Regions from separate parts of the Homo sapiens genome. Here all the other regions are linked to region 2. Evidence: promoter capture Hi-C in 16 types of primary human blood cells and fetal thymus (Javierre and others, 2016). All regions are on one chromosome and are shown on one strand. Each heading gives the region's core, a stretch centred on a gene start or on the middle of the fragment in contact. The rest is flanking DNA. Distances are from core to core; before and after follow the strand shown. Region 1 overlaps VPS13C (vacuolar protein sorting 13 homolog C). Region 2 holds the start of VPS13C (vacuolar protein sorting 13 homolog C). Region 3 overlaps VPS13C (vacuolar protein sorting 13 homolog C).

What was found. Contacts are between HindIII fragments. The CHiCAGO score rates a contact against its expected background, and 5 or more counts as called.
Region 1: a contact is called between a fragment that was not itself captured here and the fragment with the promoter of VPS13C in region 2, in 8 of 17 cell types (naive B cells, total B cells, naive CD4 T cells and 5 more). The highest score is 8.8, in naive B cells.
Region 3: a contact is called between a fragment that was not itself captured here and the fragment with the promoter of VPS13C in region 2, in 11 of 17 cell types (naive B cells, total B cells, non-activated CD4 T cells and 8 more). The highest score is 10.3, in naive B cells.

Annotation. Positions count from the first base shown.
Region 1 is chr15:61,905,803-61,909,673 of GRCh38, reverse strand. It overlaps VPS13C (vacuolar protein sorting 13 homolog C), which reads left to right. Exons shown (of 85, transcript NM_020821.3): 65 at 549-682; 66 at 2,284-2,410. Among named protein-coding and RNA genes, the nearest start is that of VPS13C, 150 kb to the left of the region's middle. The HindIII fragment of the contact is 323 bases long and covers 1,754-2,076 here.
Region 2 is chr15:62,058,717-62,062,564 of GRCh38, reverse strand. VPS13C (vacuolar protein sorting 13 homolog C) reads left to right here and starts at 2,118. Exons shown (of 85, transcript NM_020821.3): 1 at 2,118-2,290. The coding sequence starts at 2,191. VPS13C-DT (VPS13C divergent transcript) reads right to left here and starts at 2,062. Exons shown (of 2, transcript NR_135690.1): 1 at 1,722-2,062; 2 at 131-1,597. RefSeq lists an enhancer at 1,807-1,856 and a silencer at 1,907-2,256. The HindIII fragment of the contact is 3,439 bases long and covers 1-3,131 here.
Region 3 is chr15:61,890,409-61,894,095 of GRCh38, reverse strand. The region is part of intron 66 of VPS13C (vacuolar protein sorting 13 homolog C); the gene reads left to right. Among named protein-coding and RNA genes, the nearest start is that of LINC02349, 160 kb to the right of the region's middle. The HindIII fragment of the contact is 3,348 bases long and covers 711-3,687 here.

The DNA of each region.
Region 1 (3,871 bases), core at 666-3,165, 150 kb after region 2:
TAAAATGTCTTTGATTTTTAAAATTTGCTTTGAGATATTTCAGTAAACCATGCTATCAAAATTTACTGGTAATTATTTGAAGGTGCTGCTATATCAATATATAATGCCAACATATATTTATAACAGATCAGAGCCAGTTTGCTTTTTAGTAAGAACTTAAGGAAACAGGCCGGGTGCAGAGGCTCACGCCTGTAATCCCAGCACTTTGGGAGGCCGAGGCGGGCTGATCACTAGGTCAGGAGTTCGAGACCAGCCTGGCCAATATGGTGAAACCCCATCTCTATTAAAAAGTACAAAAATTAGCTGGGCATGGTGGCACATGCCTGTAATCCCAGCTATTCGGAAGGCTGGGGCAGGAGAATTGGTTGAACCTGGGAGATGGAGGTTGCAGTAACCCGAGATGGCGCCACTGTACTCCAGCCTGGGTGACAGCAAGACTCTGTCTCGAAAAAAACCAAAGCTTTTGTGTTTTACGTAATATTGAAATTCCATATGTAAGTGTAGATTAAACCAGTACATCAAACATACTTTTTTTTTTTCTACAATAGAATGGGGGTATCTTGGTGGATGTAAACACTGCCGAACATTCAACTGTCATAACTTTTTCTGATTACCATGAGGGATCTGCACCTGCCTTGATAATGAACCATACACCATGGGACATCCTCACATACAAACAGAGGTATGAGAAAAAAGGGTTAATGGGAAATACTTTTATTGGTTCATAGTAACTAATGGGAAACACTTTGGTTTCATATTCAAAATGTTTTTAGATTTTAGAAAGGTGATATGGAACACATGGTATTTATCTTTAATACCCTTACATGTTTTGAGATAACACTCTGTAAACACATTAATATTTCTGCAGCAAAACTGATGAATATTCACATCAAATGGGATAAATAGAAATTATTAATAGTTTCGTATCAATTCAGGTCAGGTTTTGCCGCCAAATGAGTTTTGATACCAAATTTCCAGAAAAATCTTTGGGCTTTTAGAGCTTTTTAAATTTCAAAATGGCAGATAAGGGAGTGAACCTGTTTAAGTATTCCCTTTCCTGGTAATCTGGTAACGCTCAGTGAACCTCTTCCTATAAATCTGTATTTAGTTTTTTTGGGTAGGGATAGTAGAAGGTTAAATGAGAAGACGATGAGTAGATAGTGGTGTTGAATGTATATCATTGGCTGATAGGAATTTCATTGTTCTTGCCTTTGCTGTCATTTGTTTTGGATGATGTCATTATTTAATGGTAGAGAATTTAAGCCCTTAAAGTATCGTATAATTTTATTTATAAAATTATATTTATATTAACATATGTATATATGTGTATATATTCATGCATATATACACACATATAAATGTATGTATATATGTAAATTTGTTAAAGATTTCCCTAGTCTTAATTCTAATGGAGTGAATCCAGTGAGAGACTTAAAAGTACAGATTAGGATTAAAACCTAGTTGGATTACTTTTTTTCTCCCAGTTCTCTGGAATATTTTTTGCATTAAATGGACAAATACTTCTTAAATTGTAATAATCAATTTTAAAATCTCCTGGGAGTCTTGTTAAGATGCAGATTTTGACTCAGTAGGTTTTGGATGGGACCCAGGACTTTGCCTTTTCCTGCAAGACCCCAGGTAATACTTATTCTGCCTGTTTACGGACCACACTTTGTGTAGTAACAGTGTGAACATAATTTTTTTGTTGCTGTGACCCATAATATATCTTAAGTATTGTATTTGTTAAAAAGCTTAGCTGGTCACAGTAATGCATACCTATAGTCACAGCTACTTGAGAGGCTTGGGTAGGAGCATCTCATGAGCCCAGGAGTTTGAGGCTGTAGTGCAATATGATCTTGCCTGTGAATGAACACTGCATTCCAGCCTGGGAAACAGGGAGACCCTGTCTTTAAAAAATATGTTTAAATTTAAGCACTGAATAGAAGTTCTTCTGCTACTAAACATATTTCCTCTTCACAGCCATTTCCACAGGTGGACCCTGATCTGGCAATCTGTTTACCTAATGAATTCCATTGCTATGATTCCACTTGGATCAATTCCGAGTGCATTGAAGCTTCAGAAAGGGCAATATTCTGTTTCCCCGAGCTTAAAAACCATGAGTTTATTAGATATTTTAGGGTACTTGTTTTTAGGTAGAGTTGTGTTTTATTAACCACAGCAATTTCGTAGGACTTCTGTGCTAATCCCTTCCTCAGTAAACTACAGGTTTGGGTTTCTTATCTCCAAGATATTCTGATTTTCTCTCTGTTCATTGTGTTTTAGTGGGTCACCAGAAGAAATGGTCTTGCTGCCAAGACAGGCTCGACTTTTTGCCTGGGCAGATCCTACTGGTACCAGAAAACTTACATGGACATATGCAGCAAATGTTGGGGAACATGATCTGTTAAAGGTATCTTTTGATGTGAATGAGTGCTATATGAGTTACCTGACAGTGAAGGAAGTAGAGAAGCTATCTTCACTGACTCCTTGTCCTAATTGAACTAAAAGTGAATTGGAAGTATTTCCAGAAAAAGTAGCTTTTGGACTTTAGATGGCAAATACTGTAGTTCAAACCAGTATATTACCTTAGCTCTATCAAAGTAATTTATTTACAATTTAAAAAATAGACCTGCTTTATCTTGCCTATGTAAAGCACCTTTTTAATTAATTTACCTATTTTAAAAGGAAGGAATTGTAAGACTAAGTTAAAAACAACTTTATTTTGAACATACCTATGCCACTTTTGGCTATGAGTTTTTAAAGCTTGTTTTCCTAAGCACAGCTATGTATTTTGTTAATTAATGAAGTCTGATAGTATGCAAATTATCGCATGTAAGAAATTTAGTGAAATATTTATCGAAACAATATTTAGGTAGCTGAGTTGATTAAATATGTTATTTTTTAGACTCTTAGCCTCTGAAAGGGCCCAAAGAATTCATATACCATCCTCCCATCTGATATAGGAATTGCTCCTGCATTAGTAATATATCATCCAGTTTCTGTATGAATAAAATCCATGATGAAAGAGTTTAAATAGTGTCATTGTCCATTGTTCACTTGTCCAATAATGCCAGCTGTTAAAAGGCTTTCTTGACTTTTGCTTTAAAATGGTAATTGGCCAGTAGTTACTGAATTATCCTCATTTCTTCTCTCCTCACATTTGATACTACTTAGCAACTGTAGCTCCCAGTAAGTAGCATGTAGATACTAGAGAGAAGGTAGCAATGACATTCTGGAGGAGGATATCAAGGTCTGTGTATAGAAGGAGATCCGGGAAGAATTCTGTTCACAGCATGGTCAGGGATTTCAGTTTTTAATGTTTCTCTTCTATTTGGTGTTAGAGAATGAGGCAGTAGGAAGAGAGGGTGATTCCACCTCAGTCAGCAGATAGTCTGCCACGTATTGAAAATTGAGCTATAAGCAAGGAAATCGTTTATGTCCTTGTCCACTCAGTTGATCAAAGAAGGGAGTTCTGCTTAGGCCCAAGTGGACATGACAGGGGAGTTCAAAGAAAATCATACATTGTTGGCAAACACTAGGTTTACACAGATCTTTCCTCATTTAAGTATGATAAACAGAAAAAACCCCAACATGGGCTTTATGAAAAAAATACTTCATTAGAAAAAGGTAGCATTATCCTGTTGATTCAGAAGGTAGTTATACCTCTGAAAATTTTTTTACTACAGGACCAGAAGAAGCATTTCGAAATGTATGCCTGGCATCCTCAACTAAGTTATAAAGACATGACAACTATGAAATAAGAGAAAGCAAGGTGAAATAAAAGATAAAGACAGCAAAATGAAGTGTAAGAGGAGAGGGGAAACTGTATTCTGTGCATACTATATATTTATATCCCATTTAATCCTAAATT
Region 2 (3,848 bases), core at 869-3,368:
AGTACACAAAAATGCCTACCTTCGCATAATAATGACATGAGGCCTTACAAAGTATAACTGAAACATAATAAAATTGAATGATGCATATGAAAGCACATTTACACATTATTCTTTCAAAATTACCAAGTTATACCATAGAACTGTAAGGAATTACTTTATTAGACAAAGCATTAGTGTTACTCACTTCTCCCAAGAGATTGTGCCTATTGCTCCACCTGCTTGACCAAGCTATGTTGCCTGTGCCATCTTTCCTATCATCTTATACTGTTATTCATACATCCTTGGATTGGCTTCTTTCTTAACTTTTTATGGTACATGCCTTATCTCAACCAGAACATATATTGCTTCTTTACATTCCTCTTGGAGCATAGTCAGTGTGAATGTAAAAAGGAAGCGGGATTGTTAGAGTGTATGACTAGAAAGAACGTGGAGAAAGTTTGAAGAGAGTGTTCTAAACACTGGGAAGTTATTGGATGTTTTTGAGCAGGTGACTAACCTAAGCTCACCTGTGCTTTGGGAAAACACATCCGGTGTTCATGAGAATAGACTGGAGGAAGGAATAACTGGAGGCTAGGAAGTGAATTTCAAGGAGATGGATGGCATGGTCCAGAAGAAAAACATGGAGAATTTAGGAAAGATGGCAAAAGCAAAATAGACAGGTTAGGCTGTTATTTGGTTGTGGATGGTGAAGAAATCCAAAGTACTTACTAGTATTTTGTCTTTGTGACCAGCTAGGAAAAACAGACGGTTAAGGATTTATCTTCTTAAAGAGGAATGGAGTGTGCAAAAGTGGGAGAGGAATGTGATCTTGATAGTACTAGTTAGTACTGACTGGGTCTTTCTTTGTACTTTTAATTTTATTTAATACACAACACCAATTGTAGCCATTTTGATTTTCTTTCTTCTCCAGCGGACTTTGAATTTAAGATTTTTCTTTGTGATCCTGTGCAAGCCTAGGTTGTTTAAGAAAAATACACGAATAGTTTCTCAGACACTTCCTCGTAGCAAAGCACTTATTAATGCTTGTGACTACAAATAATCAGCATTTCTTAGGTTTCTTCCTGTGTACTGTATCTCAACAACTTTTTGAAATATATTTTAGGAAAAAATTTCTAGTTCTCTAAAGAGGTGAATCTCAATGGGTGGTTAAATTTCACAAGGGTTGAAAGATCTTGTGGTATAAAAGCTCTGCTTTTAAGGTCGTGCTACATCAAAGACAGTTCAACGATAGCATGGAAGAAAGTGATATATAAATAACAAGTAACTCATACTTAAAAAGGCACTACTACGTTTTGTTTTTTATATCTGTAATGAGATAGGTAACTGGTTAGTGGCTAGTGAATTAAAAGCGAATCTTAGAGAAAGGGGAAAAGAACGCGTTTCCCACAAAACGCGTATATTCAGTTCTCATTCTATGATATCTGCCATTTGATGTGGTTCTGTTCCCCTCCTCCCACTTTCAAATTATTTGTCGCGCGCCAGTGGTCCCAGCTACTCGGGAGGCTGACACAGGAGGATCTCTTGAGTCCAGGATGTCAAGTCTGTAGTGAGCTATGATCCCGACACTGCATTCTACCCTTGGCAACAGAGCGAGACCCTGTCTCAAAACAAAACAAAACAGAAACAAAATAAAAAAACAATGTTTTCAAGAAGCAGAGACCAAGCCCCAGGCGGAGTCGAACTCTAGCAGGACAAGAACGCGGTCGGTCCCTTTCCCCCACCTGATCCACAGGTGCAGGGGTGGTTGCCTAGGTGACGCTCAGCGCATACTCCAGGCCAGGCGGCTCCGGACACCGCGATGCGGCCGGAGTTCAACAGCAGGTGACGGCGGGAAAGCAGAGCGGCCACATAGATGTCCCTGTACTCGGTAACTCTTGCCCTCCCTTGTTCTTCTCGAAGGTCCTTTTTTTTCTCGTGCACGGCTGACGAGACAGGCGCAAGCTAACTTCCCCCGCACTCCTCCGTCGGCCTCTAGAGGGCCAGGGCTGCGGCGCCTACAAAGCCTCGGGATCACAGCTGGGCCTCCTTAGCTACCGGCCGGGCGACAGCGCGCCTGCGCACCGGCGGGGTCACGCGCGCGGCGCGGGGGTGGGCCTGCGCCGGAGGGGCTGTCATTTGCAGCGCTGGTCGCAGCCCTCAGCTGCGCCGGGCGGTTCCGGCTCCTCCCTCTCCTTGTGCCTCAGCGCCACCATGGTGCTGGAGTCGGTGGTCGCGGACTTGCTGAACCGCTTCCTGGGGGACTATGTGGAGAACCTGAACAAGTCCCAGCTGAAGCTGGGCATCTGGGGCGGTAAGCGAGAGGGCGCGGCCAGTGGGCTGCGGGCGCTGAGGGCCCAGCCGAGGGCTGCTCCGTCCGGGATTCTGCCCGGGCCCTGCTCCCTGCGCCGCCTGAGACTCCCCATCCCGGTGCGGCAGGTGCTAGATGCGGGAGCCTCTGCCGCCCGCGGATTCTCGGGGTCCCAGTCCCGACTCCGGCTGGGGAGATGCGGCGGGATCCCGCCCGCGCTGCCAAAGTTCCCACCTTTCTCGTCCCCCGAGGCCAAGCCCTGGCCCTGCTGTCCCCGCCCTGCCCGTTTCTGTGGTCCTCTCGCTGCACTCAGGGTGGCCCCTTTGGCCCTACAGCATAAAAACAGAGCCCTTTCTGTTTCGGTATCGCGTGGAGTGAGCATGGTTGTCTGGTCATATACGCTCGAAGTGGCACTAAGAAAAAAGGAGGAAGTTGCATCTCGCAGTTATCTTCACTATCATTTTACAGGGAGCAAGAACTGGGTTCCTTCTCTTTAGGATTACCGGGTTTGGAGAGGAACGGGCAGGAGATCTTTAAGATAGGCGTGTGCTTAGGGATTCTTACTCTTAATGCTTTCAGCTCCTGTGAAAATGATTTCTTCCTTTAATATTTACTTTTCCGTCAATACGAAGAGGATTTTGAATTTTGTTTTGGAGCAATAGAGAGAAATTCAAGCCTCGACCAGCATCGTCATTAATTAGGTGTCTGCTTGGTTGCATGCTCAGGAATTTATGCCAACGTTTTTATCCTGGAGATTAAGTGTATAAAAGTATTCAGGAAATAGTGTACTTAAACATACACTCTTCAACGAGCTTAATCGTTTGCATGAATTACGTGTTAAGCTTTGAGGACTTTGGGACTTTCTCACTCCACAAAAGGTTTGGGAACTTTGTCAGCTTTGGAGGAAAATTCAAAAAACGACTCAAATGTATGGATCTGCTTTTAATTCAAGCAACAACAAATAGCTATAGACTTCCCCTGTCCACTAGGGTAACCACTAGCCACTGTAGCTGTGGAGCACTTGATATGAGGTTAGTGCTAATTGAGACTTGCTGTATGAATTAAAACATCGTTTTGAATAAGCATTACTCCTAATGAAGTAGGAGAAAAAAATAATACCTCAATAATTTTTATGTTGCTTATGTGTTGAAATAATATTTGAATATATTGGGTTAAATTAAATATAATATTAAAGTGTATTTCCCGTGTTTTTTAGTTTTACTTTTTTTCTTTTTAAACTTGGCTTCTAAAATTTATAATTACGTATATGGAACATATATTGGGCAATGCTGTTTATACCCTGAATTACGGAAGAGCCTGGTTGTTGTTGTTGTTGTTTTTTTTTTTTGGCTTGTCTTTTTGAGACAAGGACTTGCTCTGTTGCCAAGGCTGGAGTGCAGTGGCAAGATCGTAGCTCATTGCAGCCTCCAACTCCTGGGCTGAAGTGATCCTCCTGCCTCAGCCTCCCAAAGTGCTAGGATTACAGGTGTGAGCTATAGTGCCTGGCAAGAGCCTGTTTTTAATAGGTGGCTGATCATTTGATTGGTTCACTGTGGTTTGC
Region 3 (3,687 bases), core at 1,135-3,634, 170 kb after region 2:
GACCTCAGACAATCCGCCCACCTCGGCCTCCCAAAGTGCTAGGATTACAGGCATGAGCCACTGTGCCTGGCCTTTCTGATTCTTTTATAATGCCCCTCTTTCTTTCTTCTTTTCTTACTGACTTCCTTAGTGGTTAAGTGGTTTTTCTCTGACAGTATGTTTTTAGTTCATTGCTTTGCATTTTTAGTATATTTATTATTGGATTTTGCTTTGTGGTTACTATGAGGCTTACAAAAAACATCTTATAGACACAATACATTATTTTAAACAAATGACAACTTAACTTTGATCAGAAAGGAAAGCAAGGAAACCAAAAAGGAAAAACTAAAAAATGCTACACTTTTAAGTCCATCCCCCATACATCTTGGCATTCTGTTGTCTCAATTTATATCTTTTTTGTATTGCCTATTAAGAGGTTGTTGTAATTATTATTATTTTTGATAGATTTGTCTTTTAGTCTTCATACTAGATATATGAGTGGATTATACACCACAATTATGGTGTTAGATTATTCTCAATTTGTCTGTGTACTTAGTTTTACCAGTGAGTTATATGCCTCCAAATTTTTTTTTCATTTTAACATTGTTTTCTTTCATATCAAGTAACTCCTTTTATCATTTTTTGTAAGATGTGTCTAGAGGTAATGAATTCCTTCAGCTTCTGTTCATCTGATAAAAACTTTATCTCTCTGTCATGTTTGAAACAAAGCTTTGTTGGATACAATATTCTTGGTTGGCAGGGTTTTTCTTCCCCTTCAACACTTTGAGTATGTTGTCCCACTGCCTCCTGCAGGGCATGGTTTCCTGAGAAGTCAGTTGCCAGACAAATTGCAGCTTCTTTATATGTTATCTGCTTCTTTTCTTTTGCCACTTTTAGGGTCCTCTCTTTGTCATAGGCCCTTGAGAGTTTGATTATTATATGCCTTAGGGTAGTCTTCTTTGGATTGAATCCGTTTGGTCATCTGTGACCTTTACCTGTGTATTTCTATCTTTCTCCAATAGGGAAAGTATTTTCTTGTTAATTCTTTAATTAACTTTCTACCCCTTGCTCTTTCTCAACTCTCTCTTGACCACCAGTGACTCTTAGATTTGCTCTTTTGAGGTTATTCTCTATATTTTGCAGGCATTCTTTGTTCTTTTTTATTCTGTTTTCTCCTCTGTGTATTTTCCAATAGCCTGTCTTAGAGCTAACTGATTCCATCCTCTACTTGATCCAGTCTGCTGTTGAGAGCCTCTAATACATTTTTCAGTTCAGCAAATTTATTTCATCATTCCAGCATTTCTGTTTAATTTTATTATTTCAGTCTGTTTCAATTTCACTGATAAATTTCTTAATTGTTTTTCTGTGTTGCCTTGGAAGTTGCTGACTTTCCTAGAATTGCTCCTTTGAATTCTTGATCTGAGAACTCACACGTGGCTGTCTTATCAGAGTTTGTCACTGGCACTTTGCTTTGTCTGTTTGGGGAGGCCATGGTTCCCTGCTTGCTGTTGTTTCTTGTGGACATGCGTCTATGGCTTTACATTGAAGGATTATTTATTTATTCCAGTGTTTGTTCTCTGGCTTGTTTTGGTCTTTCTAGAATATGTTTGCTTAGAGGTCCTTTGCAGTTGCCTTTGGGTCCCCTTTATCCTAGATCACTGCCTCCTATTCAGCACTAGATGGTGGTATAATTGCTGGTTTGCCTCAGTTCTCTGAAACATTTGGCAGTACTGTCTCCAGTGGTGGGGAAGGGGTTGCATCTCAAAGGGGATATCCCAGCTATGTAGGAAGGCTGCCCAGGGTTCCTCCTCAGAAGACTTAGGGACTGTGCCTCCCACAGTGTTGTGCTGCTGAACAGCCACTCTGAATAGGCGTTTCCTTTGGCTGAAATAAAGAGCAGAAATTCTTGGGCTGGAGTTTTTAATCCTGCTTCTCCTCTTTGTCTGTAGCCTCCCTTGGGGGTTTTCTCTTCCTAAAGCACTTGTGATGCTTCCCATGGGCTGAGCCAGGAGTGGTTTTCCTGCAAGGGAGCCCAAGATGGTGAGGAAGCTGGCTTTCTGCTTTGATCTCACTTTATCCAGTGTAGAAATTGTGAGCTTAAGAGGAATTTCCTGCATGCAGTGCCAGGCAGATTCGGGGAGAGGCATTGTGGGTAGAGAAGTTCATTTCTGTTACCATCTGCGTGGAGCTTTTCACTTCTCTGTGGCTCCAGGAATTGTGTCAGCCTCAGGTTCAAGTTCTGGGATATTGCTGATGATAATCTTGGCACTAGAAGTTTATGTTTGGTTTTCTGTGGTAAAGAGTGAAGCCACATTGCTTCTACTCTTCCATTTTGGCGTTATCACCCTCTGTTGATTTTAATTTCTGACCAATTCAAAGCAAAATTATTAAATAGATAATGATAATATGACACAGAAGGAGTGATAGCCATAAACCTTCATGCAATGAATAGTATTGCATCAACATATAAAACTTAAAATGCTAGAAATTAACTGAAACACAATTACCTGGGGATATTTTATTGTACTTCACATGAAATAGATGAAAAACAAGAGTCAGATAATATTGGAATAATAACTGTGAACTAAGATACATAGCACATTTTGTAGTTTACAGATACAGAATTCACCTTCTTAATAGGTATGTTTGAAAATTTGATTTCTTATTAGAGTAAAAAAATTGGGCAGGCATCTTTGATCACATAATGTACCTTGAAAGTATTAGTAAATTTTGAACATTAGTGACACTCAACTATTCTTATACTCTTGGTAACTTCAGTTGTTTTTGTTTTTTTTTCTCCCCTGGAAAGCATGGAATGGAAAGTACATAGTAGGTACTCGTACTGCTTATTGAAATGAACTGTTCTATTTTCATTAAACCCAGAACAAAGTGGAATTTATTATTTTAACCTCTGAAAACACTGACCAAATCAAGCCTCATATTTTTAAGTGCTACATATAACCTTCACCAGTGTGATTTACATAAATATTTCCTATGTTATAGATCATGAAAATATAAAAATAAGCTAGGCTGGTTTTGTCTGAGGTTACATTTCTTTCTTTCTTTTTTGAGATGGAGTGTTGCTCTTGTTGCCTAGGCTGGAGTGCGATGACGCTATCTCAGCTCACTGTAACCTCTGTCTCCTGGGTTCAAGCAATTCTCGTGCCTCAGCCTCCTGAGTAGCTGGGATTACAGGTGCCCGCCACCATGCCTGGCTAATTTTTGTATTTTTAGTGGAGACGGGGTTTCACCATGTTGGCCAGGCTGGTCTCGAACTCCTGACCTCAGATGATTTGCCCGCTTCAGCCTCCAAAAGTGCTGGGATTATAGGCGTGAGCCACCACTCTGGGCTAAGGTTACATCTCTAATAAACTTCCGAACCATTCTGTTTTCCGGCTTGGAGACAAAGAATCATCTTATTGCATTGGTGCCACCAAAGGATCCTCTTGAATCCTGCTCTGTGCCCTTCAGCACTCAGTAGGTAATTCAGACTTAGGTATTAAAAAACTACGTACTATTAGTCTTCGTTTTTGAAAATAATTGGTGAGTATATTTTAAAATAGATTATAGCTTAATTTATGTCATTTTGATGGTTAGAATTTTTCAATTTATAGTAGTGCTTCTTAAACTTTTCTAATCTTTCTGTTATTATAGTTCAATTTTATATAATAACAAGTTACTATGTGTGGGTTTAATGAAGTCTTTCTT